Linked DNA regions of Homo sapiens: region 1 is linked to region 2. Evidence: promoter capture Hi-C in human tissues and cell types (Jung and others, 2019). All regions are on one chromosome and are shown on one strand. Each heading gives the region's core, a stretch centred on a gene start or on the middle of the fragment in contact. The rest is flanking DNA. Distances are from core to core; before and after follow the strand shown.

Evidence for each region. The method cuts DNA at HindIII sites, captures the fragments that hold promoters and counts their contacts. A contact is called where the count stands out against the background at its distance.
Region 1: a fragment that was not itself captured here is called in contact with the fragment with the promoter of PIM1 in region 2 in 1 of the 25 tissues and cell types used here (IMR-90 fibroblasts).

Annotation. Positions count from the first base shown.
Region 1 is chr6:36,806,405-36,813,005 of GRCh38, forward strand. The region is part of intron 3 of CPNE5 (copine 5); the gene reads right to left. Among named protein-coding and RNA genes, the nearest start is that of CPNE5, 30 kb to the right of the region's middle. RefSeq lists a silencer at 4,620-4,788. The HindIII fragment of the contact is 3,033 bases long and covers 1,572-4,604 here.
Region 2 is chr6:37,166,768-37,173,522 of GRCh38, forward strand. It overlaps PIM1 (Pim-1 proto-oncogene, serine/threonine kinase), which reads left to right and starts at 3,385. Exons shown (of 6, transcript NM_002648.4): 1 at 3,385-3,890; 2 at 4,006-4,112; 3 at 4,214-4,264; 4 at 4,358-4,724; 5 at 6,229-6,405. The coding sequence starts at 3,809. RefSeq lists enhancers at 2,630-3,228, 5,150-5,743 and silencers at 2,854-3,633, 3,894-4,213, 5,403-5,502. The HindIII fragment of the contact is 6,628 bases long and covers 1,194-6,755 here.

The DNA of each region.
Region 1 (6,601 bases), core at 1,838-4,337, 360 kb before region 2:
GGCTGCTTCCCTCCAGGACCACAGACCCCACCAGGCAGGCCCTCCACCTCCCACTCAGAGAGCAGCAGTGCCTTCTCCCATCGCCACGGCAAGCCTGGGTGGTCACAGCTCCCTGCTGTTGCAAGCCCCCAGGTGATGCTCTATCCCTTGTGGATTTCCCCAAGCTCATCCATACCTTTGAGAGAAATCTCTTCATTAAAATCTCTCCAGTTAAACCCTCTGAGTTTCTCTTTCCTGCTGGGACCCTCACTGATAAAATTTATCTCTCACAAACATGTTTACACACATACAATTTCCAACTCAATTGAACGTAAACCAAGACAGCCCCTGCCTCCACCCTATTCTGCTCAGACTCCAGTGTATAACATTCATGTCACCAAGAAAGTGCATGACTCCCGATCATGCAGCAAAGATACCAATGTCCTGTGCCAGCCCTTTGGGACGTGGGATCTCAGCACTGCTGTCCCACTTAAGGGCTTCATTGGGGGCTCTCAGGGGCCATGGCCCCCCAACACCAGCCTCCTCCACATTGTAGAAAGTGGCCATCCTGGCCCCATCCACATAGGTGCCAGAGTGAGGACTGGGGGATGGAAAATTCCTAAATAAGAGTCAGGGTTTGAGGCTCCTAACCTGGGCTTTATGTGGGTTTGTGACATCCTGAAATTGAATGCAAATGTCTGTCTACACATGCCTGCATTTTCTGGGGAGAACAGCCAAGGTTTATATCAGTTTCTCAGAGGGAAGCACGTCTTCAAAAAGCTTTAAGAATCACTGGCCCTAGCTTTGAAGACAGGTCTCAAGGTTTCCCACATAAAGCAGTAAAGTGAAGTCGTTAATAGTGCAGAGTCTACGGCCAGGCCTCTGGGTTCAAATTTTGGCTCTGCTACTCCCTGGTTATGTGACCTTGGGCAAATGCCTTTACCTCTCTGTGCCTCAGTTTCCTCCTCTGTAAAATGGGAATGGCAATTTATCTACATGTTATGGGATTGTTGGAGGCCTAAATGATTTGATTTACATAATATACTTAGAAGAGAGCCTGGGACATAAAACGTGCTCTGTACGTAAGTGATCCCACACTCTGGTTCTTTCTACATCCCTAACTCTGGTTCAGCCATCCAGGAACTGTGTTCATCTCCCAAGCCTTTAAACTCAGCTTTATCTCTAAGATGCTCCCAGTCCTACCACTAACATTTCCTCTTCAGCTCCCACTCCTTTCTGCTCATCTTCCACACCTGAGAGGGTTTTCGTCCTCCATCTAAAGGGGTCTCCCGAAAGCCCTAGCTCTCAGTGGTTGCTCTCTAGATATCTTCTGTATGCGGGGTGAGACTGGAGGCAAATGCAGGGCTGGCCCTTTGCTCGAACAAACCGACTTCTCCATCAGGATCCAGGCCCTACTCTCCCTACGGGCTACCCACAACACCAGGGTCCTTAGTACCCCAGGCCTCAGTTGAAAAAAGGCCGCAGAAAACCTAAGGTTTTCTTAGAGACCTGGGGCCTAGAGAAGAAACTCACTGTGGCCACCAGCAGGGAAGGAAACAAAAGGCAGGAGGAGCCCTTGGGCATGGAAGCCACGTAGTGAAAGTAAAGGAGAGAGGTCGCCCGCTCAGCCTCTGATCATGGACTAGGATGTGGAGAGAAAGGCAGCCCAGGAAGAGGTGCCCTCTCTGTTGCTTCCAGATTTCTTTTCTTTTTTCTTTTTTTTTTGAGAGGAGTTTTGCTCTTGTTGCCCAGGCTGGAGTGCAGTGGCGCGATCTTGGCTCACTGCAACCTCTGCCTCCTGTGTTCAAGTGATTCTCCCGCCTCAGCCTCCCCAGTAGCTGGGATTACACGTGCCTGCCACCACGCCTGGCTAAGTTTTGTATTTTTAGTAGAGGCGGGGTTTGGCCATGTTGACCAGGCTGGTCTCGAACTCCTGACCTCAGGTAATCCACCCCCAACCGTCGGCCTCACAAAGTGCTGGGATTACAGGCATGAGCCACTGTGCTCAACCTGCTTCCAGATTTCTAAAATCTGGGCCCCTTCTTCCTCCTCATCACCCACCAGCTGGGAGGCAGCAACAGACAGCACAAGGACATCTCCCGGCACGTGAGTCAACTCCCCACAAATGCCCATGGCTGCAGAACATTGGGGCCCAGGGCCAGGGAGGGCCCAGGACCCTCCCAGGCCTGCCTTGTGTTGCTTACGATCTGCCTGAGACACCCCCTGAGAGGGTGTACCTCCCTGTTGCTTAAACAGAGTAAATCATTCCTTCCTCCAGATGGAGGACAGAAGGGACATGCAGGGAGTGTCTGTTGCAGAGCTGGTCTCCAATACTGATAGTAACCCTCACAGAGCCCTACTGCGTGCCACGCACTAAGTGTTATCCATAAGGTCATTCATTTAAGCTTCATAACAACCTTCCGAAGCAGAACTATTATCCCCACTTTACAGATAAGTAAATTAAGATAAGGCTCAGAGAGATTGAGAGACTTGCCCAAGGTCACACAGCTAGCAGGCGATAGGAACGGGATTCAAACCCAGGCTGGCTGGCTCCAAATCAATAAGGAGTTGATATAGTCACTATTCAGTAAGAGGCTTATGCTGTGAATGGAGGCTGGGACTAGGTCTGACAGTTTTCAGCCCTGTAGTTTCTCTACTCCCTAGCGCAGTCTCTGAACTTCTGGGATTACTGTGCCTGCTCCCTTGTTAACACTCCCTGTGGGTCTGGGTGGACCCACAGATCAGGTCATAATGTGAGTGTCCCTGACCTAACACCCTGCCCAACCTCTATCCCTCCCCTTGCAGCCCCTACGCAGAGAGAGAGAGAGGAGAGAGAGAGAGGAAGGGAGAGACAGAGAGAGAGAGAGATTGAGAGAGAGAGAGGAGGAGGAGAGAAAGAGTCCTCAACCCTCCTGTGATTTCCTTTTAAAAATGTTAACAAGTTGGGCAGCACTTTGGGAGGCAGGAGGATCGCTTGAACCTAGGAGTTCGAGACCAACCTGGGCAACATAGTGAGATCCCATCTCCACAAAAAATAAGAAAATTAGCCAGGCATGGAAGCACACGTCTGTAGTCCCAGCTACTTGGGAGGCTGAGGCAGAAGGGTCAATTGAGCCCAGGAGATTGAGGCTGCAGTGAGCCGTGATTGTGCCACTGCACTCCAGCCTGGGCGACAGAGCACGACGCTGTCTCAAAAACAAAAAAACAAACAACAACAACAAAAAGCCAAAACAACAACCAAAAAAAAAATCAAATTGACTTAGGACCTGATTTTAGAGCTGGAAGAAACCAAATCCTCTCAATTAACACATGAGAAAACAAAGGCAGAGAAGGTGGGAGGGGGGCTGTTCTGACCACGGTCACACAGCTCATTAGGAAATGGATGCTGACGGGTACCCCAGCCAGTGGGGCTCCCAGCGCTGAGTGGAGCCCTGGTTCACCCAGAAGCCTGTGGACATCCCTGCTCAGGTTTCTCCCTTCCACCCGATCCTCCTCCTCCTCCTTCTGCTTGGTATCCTGACTTCTCAACTTTGAAACACTTCCATACATCCACGATCTCATTTAACCCCCTCCAATGACCCCGTGACAATGAAATTATTATCATCTCCACTTTACCGATGAAAGAACGGAGCTCTTGGAGGCCAGAGAAGCCCTCCCAGAGGCAACCCATGGTGGGCGAGGAAGGGCCGGGACTCTCAGGAGTGAGAAAGGCAGAGCATCCCTGGTGCTCACCACAGCCCCTACCTCAGGCATGCGTGGGTGGCTCTCTGCAAGCCTGAACAATCTTCATGGCCCTGGATTTAGGCAGCTCTTGCCTTTTTACAAATTACAGCTGGATTGAGCTTCGGAGCCATCCCCCAGCTGCAAAGCCCCCAGGGGCTGTGCCGGTGGGATAGGAGGCTGGAGCTGACAGACTGCTGTCTACCTCACAAGCTGCTCACCCTTCCCCAGCCGTAGATCCCTCAATACTTTTCATATATTATTGATGGCTCCTTAATTGGGGATTCTAAAAGCCTCGCTGCAGAGCCCAGCCCTGGCCCCTCATGAATCATGTTCACTAGGATTAAAATTAGAGGCCAGAAAGCTACCTGACTCAAATAGAAACGGAAAAAGGGAATGTGCTTTCCAAGGCTGGCCCTGGGAATAGGAGCCAGGTGGGGGCGCCCAGTGGCTGGGAAGAGTGGCCTGAGATCTGGGGACAGGAAAGGAGGGCCTGGGGAGGCGGAGGAGCACGGAGGATCTGGCCATGCCAGGCCTGCACCATCTTGGGTCTGGAAAGTTCTCTCTGGTTCTGTCACTGAAGGAGTCCAGAATTCTGTGGCCACCCCTCCTCGTTGCAGTGAGGAAAACCAGGCCCAGAGAGAGATGGGGCTTGCCTAAAATTACAGGGAGTGAGCCATGACCTTGGCACCTTTCGTTTCGTAGGCCTGGTGACCTCCCAAATGGCTGCCTGTTTTGTTAAGGCTTCCAGGTAAGGCAGGGCAGAGGTGGAGACAGGGGCCCTGAGTTAGGGAAGCCCAGGCTCTAAAGGCCTCCCTGTTCTCAAGCCTGGTCAGAGAAGCCTCCCTATCTCGCCCAGAGACCAGGGTCAGGGTATGAAACTTTACCAAGCTTAGAATGAAAGACTTCCTGCCAAAAAGCTTAGTTCCTAATTAGCCATTGTTTCAGATAATCTGTTCAATCATCCCAGCTCCTCGGGGAACGGGGAACGACCCTTTACCAATGAGCCTGGCTGCCAAGCTGCCAACAAAACACTCTCCACCACCTTGTCCCCACCCCCAGCCTTCTAGCCCCGGGTCTGACTGTAGAGGGTGGGGGGCCTGAGCAGTCCCCACCCTAAAGGAAGCCAAGCATCATGGAGGGGGCCCTGGGACTTGTCCCCCAGCTCACTCCAAAACATCGATAGCTCCTGCCAAATGGCATCACGATGTCTGAAATGATACTGTCAATGGTTCCTTCCTCCAGATAAAGCATTGGTTTCTTACTTAGGGCTTCTTATAAGAAGAGCCATTATTGAGCTTTTTCTGCAGGCCAGGCACTTTACACGAATTAGCTTATTTACTCCTCACAGTAGGCTTGTGAGCCTAAGTGCTTGGCCAAGATCCCCCACCTGGGCAGGTGGTGGGCCCATTTTTAAACTTGACTTTGGAGTGCACACTTTCAACAGCTCAGCCACAACTGTAGAGTGCACCTGGACACTAACACTGAAAAGCAAATAGATCTATCAGCCACCAGGGGACCTGGCCTAGAACTCAGGGTTTATTAGAAAAGCCAACTCCTTTCTTCAAATGAAATCTCAGGCTCATGTCTAATGTATTACACAGAAATAATGAACACCTCTGCTTGAAGGAGGAAAGGGAGGCAGGGGCTACACACATATTCACGGTGGATCCTGGAGCTGCCACCCTCAAATCCTGGGGATAGAAAAGCACACTTTGGGCTGGGCGCAGTGGCTCATGACTGTAATCCCAGCACTTTGGGAGGCCGAGGTGGGCGGATCTCCTGAGCTCAGGAATTTGAGACCAGCCTGGCCAACATGGTGAAACCCCATCTCTACGAAAAATACAAAAATTAGCTGGGGGTGGTGGCATATGCCTGTAATCCTAGTTACTCGGGAGGCTGAGGCAGGAGAATTGCTTGGACCCAGGAGGTGGAGGTTGCAGTGAGCCGAGATTGTGTCACCACACTCCAGCCTGGGCGACAGAGTGAGACTCCGTCTCAAAAACAAACAAACAAGAAAAGCCCACTTTGAAAGTCAGTGGCCTGGGCAGAGGAGAAGACCAGGGACTCCGACTCGGAAAACCACATTCACATCCCAGCTCTGCCACTTCCTAGCTGTGTTGCTGGGCAAAGCCAGGATCCCTCTGAGCTCTGCTTCCTCATCTGGGTGTGGTGAGGGCCAAGGGAGATAATGGGGTGCTGCTGATGTGGAGACTGTACAGGGTAGAAGGCATATCAGTCACCCTCTTATTTAAGGAGGGGAAGGAAAGGGATAGAGCCTCTTTACAGCTTGCCTGATGGTACTGTTTAATAATAAAAAGAATATTTACAGGTCCTGAGCACAGGCAGGCACTGCTAAGTGATTCTGCCATGTGGTCCCTACCACAGTCCACTAAGCAGGCATTGGGAACCCATTTTATTGATGAAAAAAACTAAGGCTCAGAGAGAGGTTAAGGAAAGTGGCAAAGTCAGGATTCAAAGGGACATCCCAGACAGCACCTCACTGTGTCAAAGCAGGTTTTAAAGCCCTGACCCTAAGACTGTGAGTAGGTGGCCATAGACCCATCTAGTCCCTAAAGTAAAGCTTTGGTCCTGGACTGCCTAACCCTGATCACGGGGAGTCAGAGCCCTGAAAATTCAGCTGCATGACAAGAGCAAAGGCCACTAAAGGCTTTCCAAGTGACCTAAGGCTCAGGAGGGACCTCTCTTTGCAGAGGCAGACTTCTCTGCAAAAAGGAGAGAGTCCAGAAAGCCTACCCCAAGCTTGCCTTGGAGTCCACCTCTTAGAGAGGCCTGCCTTCCGCTTTGTGCCTTAGCAATGCTGATGGTCCACTCATTCCTTTGTATCTTTAGATAATGGTCTATGTGGAATGACCAAGGCCAGGTCACCAGGGATCCTAAA
Region 2 (6,755 bases), core at 2,135-4,634:
GATATATTAAATGTTAATCACTTTAGCTCTAATTAAATATTTAGTCCTTCAAAGACCTAGAAAAAGTGAAAAAGGTTGAAGTTGATACATATTTTTTTTTCTAAAAGGCCTAAAAGATCTACTAGAAACAACTATTTTAAATCACATCTCTCCCCAAATGGTTAAAAATCGAACTATTAATCCAGTAGTTTACCTTTGGTACCTTCTAGGTGTAAGACCGTTTGGGCTGGGCGCGGTGGCTCACGCCTGTAATCCCAGCACTCTGGGAGGCCAAGGCAGGTGGATCACAAGGTCAGGAGATCGGGACCACCATGGCTAACACGGTGAAACCCCGTCTCTACTAAAAATATAAAAAATTAGCCAGGCGTGGTGGCAGGCGCCTGTAGTCCCAGCTACTCGGGAGGCTGAGGCAGGAGAATGGCGTGAACCTGGGAGGCAGAGCTTGCAGTGAGCCAAGATTGCGCCACTGTACTCCAGCCTGGGAGACAGAGCGAGACTCCGTCTCAAAAAAAAAAAAAAAAAAAAAAAGGCCGTTTTAAAAAACATCATCATCATAACCACGATCAACATTATTGCCATCATCATTGCTAATATTTATTAGAAGTTTACTCTGTACTGGGTTATATGCTTTACAAACAAGAGTTTTATTTGCTCCTTACAACAACCCTATGAGGTAGATGCTGTTATTATCTCCATTCTGTCTAAAGCTTAATAAGGTTAAGTAACTTGACCAATGCCTAACTAGTAGCTGCCAGATCCCGGAATTGAAACCAGGCTAACTTAGTTTAAAGCCCTTGCTCCCAACTTTTATGTTCCCGAAGCCCACTTAATTCATTTAAATTTGGTATAAATTGACTTTAATTATGGCCTTTTTGTTAGAATCCATTATAGTCTTCTCTTTTATCAACAAATGTTGGATAAAGTATGCATTCAGGGAGGCTGGGCATGGTGGCTCACACCTGTAATCCAAGGAGGCTGGGCATGGTGGTTCACACCTGTAATCCCAGCACTTTGGGAGGCCGAGGCAGGCGGATCATAAGGTCAGGAGTTCGAGACCAGCCTGGCCAACATGGTGAAACTCCGTCTCTACTAAAAATACAAAAATTAGCTGGGCATGGTGGCGGGCGCTTGTAATCCCAGCTACTTGGGAGGCTGAGGCAGGAGAACCAATTGTTTGAACCCGGGAGATGGAGGTTGCAGTGAGCCGAGATAGTGCCATTGCACTCTAGCCTGGGTAACAGGGCGAGATTCCGTCTCAAAAAAAAAAAAAAAAAGGGCATTCAAGGAATAGGAAGACAAAGTATAATGGAAAAGTAAATGAACAAAAAGGATTTAAAAAAACAAATCCCAACTGTCAGATTAGTGGACAGTGAACCAATGCTCTGAGTTTGTTCATCAATCTGTGGTAGAACTACAATTGTTTCCTAAAGAGTGGAAAGGCTTTGAATAAAAGTGGAGAGGTAGAGAGGGCTCTCCCAGGACAGGTTGATTGCTTCCGCAAAGGCAAAGGGTCTGTAAAGTGCTAGGCGAGTGGGAACAAGTGGGAATAGTTCTGTTTGACTACATTTGAGGGTTTGAGAAAGGAAAGGGAGGGTAGAAGGGATGGAAGTGGGAATCACATATGTTTAATGATGTCTTGTTCGGTGCCAAGGACAGTTTTAGACCCTGATAAGCGGAAAGCTTTGAATACTCAGGAGGTGAATTTGGGTCATTTCATCTCCTCTCTTAGCTGCTGTATGACCCTGTGCCATCCTATTTATGTTTCATTTTCCTATCTGCAAAAAGGGAGTAATTCTTGTTCCCTTGGGTTTTCTCCTAGTCATAAAAAATGAATGAGTTCGGCCACAGTACACAAACAAAAGGAAAATATGTAATATTTTGTAGGATAAATTCATAAAAGTTGTGGAGGATCTGGGCACTTTTATAAAGCAAGCACTGTAGAAAACTTTCAAAGGAAACATTTAAATTCACTAATGACAGCTATAGGGATCCTGATTTTTCCTTTAAATGGCAGGCACTTCAAAAAATTAAAATAGAATGTAGTTAGCTTTCAATTACTTAGGCCACTGACAATTCAATTTATGGATTATATAGTATTTTAATTTACTCATTTCACACGTCGTTATCAACTCTACATGAAGTTTAAAAGGACAAAGGATGCAAGTGGAATTGGTCAGTGTTCCGGGTTATTTCCAAGGGAGGCAGAGGGTGGGGGGTTTCCTTTGAGACAAGACTTGGGGTTGGCCAATAATTGCTGGTATTGCCTGCCTGGTAATAACAGGCTGATGAAAAGGTGACTACAACGTGAAAACTGGTTAAATCAAGCGCACCCTCCCACCCTCGTTTTAGATGAGGAATTTTCCGCCCTCACAGAAGGGGCTGAGGCAGCATCTGGCATCACAACACTAACATTTGCTTCGTGATTTCCTCTTTACCCGGCCCTTTGACACACATCCCTTCCCAGAAATCAGGATTCGCTGGTGCTTTTGCATTTCTAAAATGGGAATCCCGTGGCTGAGCTTTTAGCCGGCCGGAACGACTGAGGGCTGCATCCCTTTCCCGCAGGAGCGGGGCTCCCGCCTCCAGTTCTGTTCCAGGCCTGACTCCTCCACTCCCTCCGTGACTCATGTCCTGCGGATCCTTCGCCCCCGACGCGCCCCCCAACACACAAACCCCCAGAATCCGCCCCCAGCCTACAGCGCGACGTCAGCCCGCCCCAGCCGACTTGGAGGTCTCGGGTCTGAGTCACACAGAAAGACCACCCTCGTCGGCATCCCCACACACAGTCCGACACCCGGCGCGCCGGCCTCCCCGCCTGACACACTAACGCCCGTCGTCTCCGCGCAACTTGTTATGCTCCGGCTCGAGCCCTTGACCCAAAACCCTCAGCGAAACGGAGAGCCGCAGAGCCGGCCTCGGGCGGCCTTTGATGGCTTTGTTATTGTTTGGGTTTGAATCGATACGCCCCTCCCCATCCTTCCTCCCTCGCGGCCCTACACCCAGCTCCCGCCTCCCCTCACGCCCCGCGCCCCTCCCCCTCCATTTTGGCGCCTTTTCCTTCCCGCCACGTCGTGGCGGCGTAGAGACCATTCTGACCGCGAGAGCTGGGCGGGGCGGGGGCGGGGCGCGCCGAGTTATGCAGATCAATCGGCCTCTGGTTGGCTGGAGTAGCGCTGGCAGGGGCGGGGCCGGGGCGCGGCCACAGAGCGCGCGGGGCGGGGGCCGAGGGGAGTCGCCCAGTCCCGCCGCTTCCCCACCCCCTCTCCTCCCTCGGCCGGCCCGGCAGCCCTGCTCCCCGCCTTGGCCTCCCGGAGAGGCCCCGCCCCGTCCCCGCCCGCCGCGCCCTCCCCGCGCGCCCTCCCCGCCGGCGCGCTCCTCCCCTTTACTCCTGGCTGCGGGGCGAGCCGGGCGTCTGCTGCAGCGGCCGCGGTGGCTGAGGAGGCCCGAGAGGAGTCGGTGGCAGCGGCGGCGGCGGGACCGGCAGCAGCAGCAGCAGCAGCAGCAGCAGCAACCACTAGCCTCCTGCCCCGCGGCGCTGCCGCACGAGCCCCACGAGCCGCTCACCCCGCCGTTCTCAGCGCTGCCCGACCCCGCTGGCGCGCCCTCCCGCCGCCAGTCCCGGCAGCGCCCTCAGTTGTCCTCCGACTCGCCCTCGGCCTTCCGCGCCAGCCGCAGCCACAGCCGCAACGCCACCCGCAGCCACAGCCACAGCCACAGCCCCAGGCATAGCCTTCGGCACAGCCCCGGCTCCGGCTCCTGCGGCAGCTCCTCTGGGCACCGTCCCTGCGCCGACATCCTGGAGGTTGGGATGCTCTTGTCCAAAATCAACTCGCTTGCCCACCTGCGCGCCGCGCCCTGCAACGACCTGCACGCCACCAAGCTGGCGCCCGGTGAGAGCACCCCCCGCCTCCGGCCCGGGGATGCGGGGCGGCGGCGGGATCTCCTGGGTGGGGAGCTGGCGGCTCGCGGGCCGGCACTGAGTCCCCGTGCTTCCCCCTTTCCTAGGCAAGGAGAAGGAGCCCCTGGAGTCGCAGTACCAGGTGGGCCCGCTACTGGGCAGCGGCGGCTTCGGCTCGGTCTACTCAGGCATCCGCGTCTCCGACAACTTGCCGGTGAGTGGGCGCCCCGCGGTGGGGAGGGCGCGCCGGGCGGGGGGCGCACGGGCGTGCTTTAGCCCGGACGAGGGAACCTGACGGAGACCCTGGGCTTCCAGGTGGCCATCAAACACGTGGAGAAGGACCGGATTTCCGACTGGGGAGAGCTGGTGAGTGCCCTGCAGGAGCGACCCCCAGGATGAGTGGGTGGGGTGAGGGGCGCCCCCGACTCCCGCCCTAACGCGGCCCCCTCGCCCCTGCAGCCTAATGGCACTCGAGTGCCCATGGAAGTGGTCCTGCTGAAGAAGGTGAGCTCGGGTTTCTCCGGCGTCATTAGGCTCCTGGACTGGTTCGAGAGGCCCGACAGTTTCGTCCTGATCCTGGAGAGGCCCGAGCCGGTGCAAGATCTCTTCGACTTCATCACGGAAAGGGGAGCCCTGCAAGAGGAGCTGGCCCGCAGCTTCTTCTGGCAGGTGCTGGAGGCCGTGCGGCACTGCCACAACTGCGGGGTGCTCCACCGCGACATCAAGGACGAAAACATCCTTATCGACCTCAATCGCGGCGAGCTCAAGCTCATCGACTTCGGGTCGGGGGCGCTGCTCAAGGACACCGTCTACACGGACTTCGATGGTGAGCCAGGCCCGGGAGGGAGCTGCCCAGGTGACTCGGCCCGGCCCGGCCCAGTCCGGAGGCCTCGGCCAGTCTCCCGCGCCAGCCTTTTGTAAAGGTCATTGGGCCGCCTGGCTCGATGCTAGCCGGGGTGGGACGCAGGAGAGCCTCCCAGCGTAGTAAAGCCGGGGATTTTCAGCCAGCTGAACCTGTAATGTTTCTGGCATGATTTTATTCTTCAAGTGGAATTCAGTTAGTTCCAGGCTTTCCCGATGAATAAGAGGTTGTGGGCAACCGGCGGTAGCCCAGATTTTTCTAAAGTCTGACCCAGTTTCCCCGCCAGTAAAAGGATGGGGGCGGGGGAAGAGGTGGAAATTGATGCCGGTTTTGTAATTTTTGTTTTATTTTATAAGGGAGTTAGTTTTCTGTATGGTAGTTTTAGAGCTGCAGTTCTTAACTCCTTTCTGATCTAGGGAAGGTTAAGGAATAGGAACTATATTATTACTGGTGGCTTTTTTTTTTCTTTAGTGTTAAGGGGAGAGAGAGTCAGGAATGAATGTTGTGAAATAAGATCTGTCGCTGGTTTGAAAATTAGTTGGGTGTCTCCGCAGAGAGGATGAAAACCTATCCTAGGGAGGGGCTTGGAGCGGGTTCTTTCAGAAAAGAAGGAATGGAGAGCCTGAGATCAAAGCTGCGGAGGGTGGGTCATCATCTGAGCGGCTTAACCTAACAAACGACAGCCTTTCAAAACTTGTGACTCGGGCTTGTGGTTTATGTTTATTTGCCCTTGGAGGACGCTGGGTTGGGCTGCATTTTTTGTATTTAACAGTTAATGGCTGGCCGGGTCCTCCCATGTTTTTTCTTTCAAGTCTTTGCTGCCCCCTGGTGAGCACCAGCGGCATGGCCCCTCCTTTTTCTTTTACTACCCAAAGTTTGTAAACAGGAATCACGTGGTCTGAAACCAACCCTGCAGCTCTGTCTACCTTTCCAGTCTAGGGAGGAAAGGGTGTGGGTGTCTGCTCCTGCTTGCATCGGGTGGGGAGGAAGGCCTCCCAAAGGGCACCCTGACTTAGGATGTTGTGCAAGCATCCTTGCTTGGATCCTGTCGGCCATGAGAATCTCACCCGGGCTCCTGGGCAGTGGTGAATGCAATTTAAGGATAGTCTATGAGATACCTTTCTTGGTTGTGCAGACATGCATCCCTTCATCCTTCGCAGGCGGTCCTGCCTCACAGGGCCTCAAGTTTTGGGTCTGCGGCCAGCTGTGTTTGTTTCTTGGAGCAGTTCATAAAGAATTTCAGTTTATGGTTTGGGCTAGCAGAGAGGTGGGTAATGCTTTGGGTTGGAGAGATGCCGTAAGGTGCGCCTCCACTCTCCTTAGCCCAGAGGGAAAAATGGAGTTCACCTAGCTCCTGAGAGAAGGGATTTTTTTTTTTTTTAAAAGAAAGAGTTATATATACCACCCAGCTTCTTTGTGCTTGTTTTTGCTAAAAGTGTGTTTTCTCTTCTATTCCCTTGGCTCACAGGGACCCGAGTGTATAGCCCTCCAGAGTGGATCCGCTACCATCGCTACCATGGCAGGTCGGCGGCAGTCTGGTCCCTGGGGATCCTGCTGTATGATATGGTGTGTGGAGATATTCCTTTCGAGCATGACGAAGAGATCATCAGGGGCCAGGTTTTCTTCAGGCAGAGGGTCTCTTCAGGTAACTGATGGAAACCCCTGGCCATGGGGTTATTGGTCTTAATGGGGCTATTAGTCTTCATGGGACAGTCTTTGAAATTCTGGAGAGCTTCACTCTCCAGTAGATTCTGTCACCCTTGGCTTAGAATTGTAGGTGAGTGATTTACACTTGAGCTGGCCTCATAAATCACATGGTTTGCACTTGAGCTTTCCTTGGGAGGTCAGAGGAAGGCATGTGTGAGCATATTAAGAAGAAAAGACAATCTGGCTTCTCCAAAAACTTTTTTAAAGGTACCAACAGAAACCTGATAATTCCTGGCTGTTTTGCCAGGGAGTAAAAAGTTAAAAGCTCTTTTAGCATCTTCTTTAAGG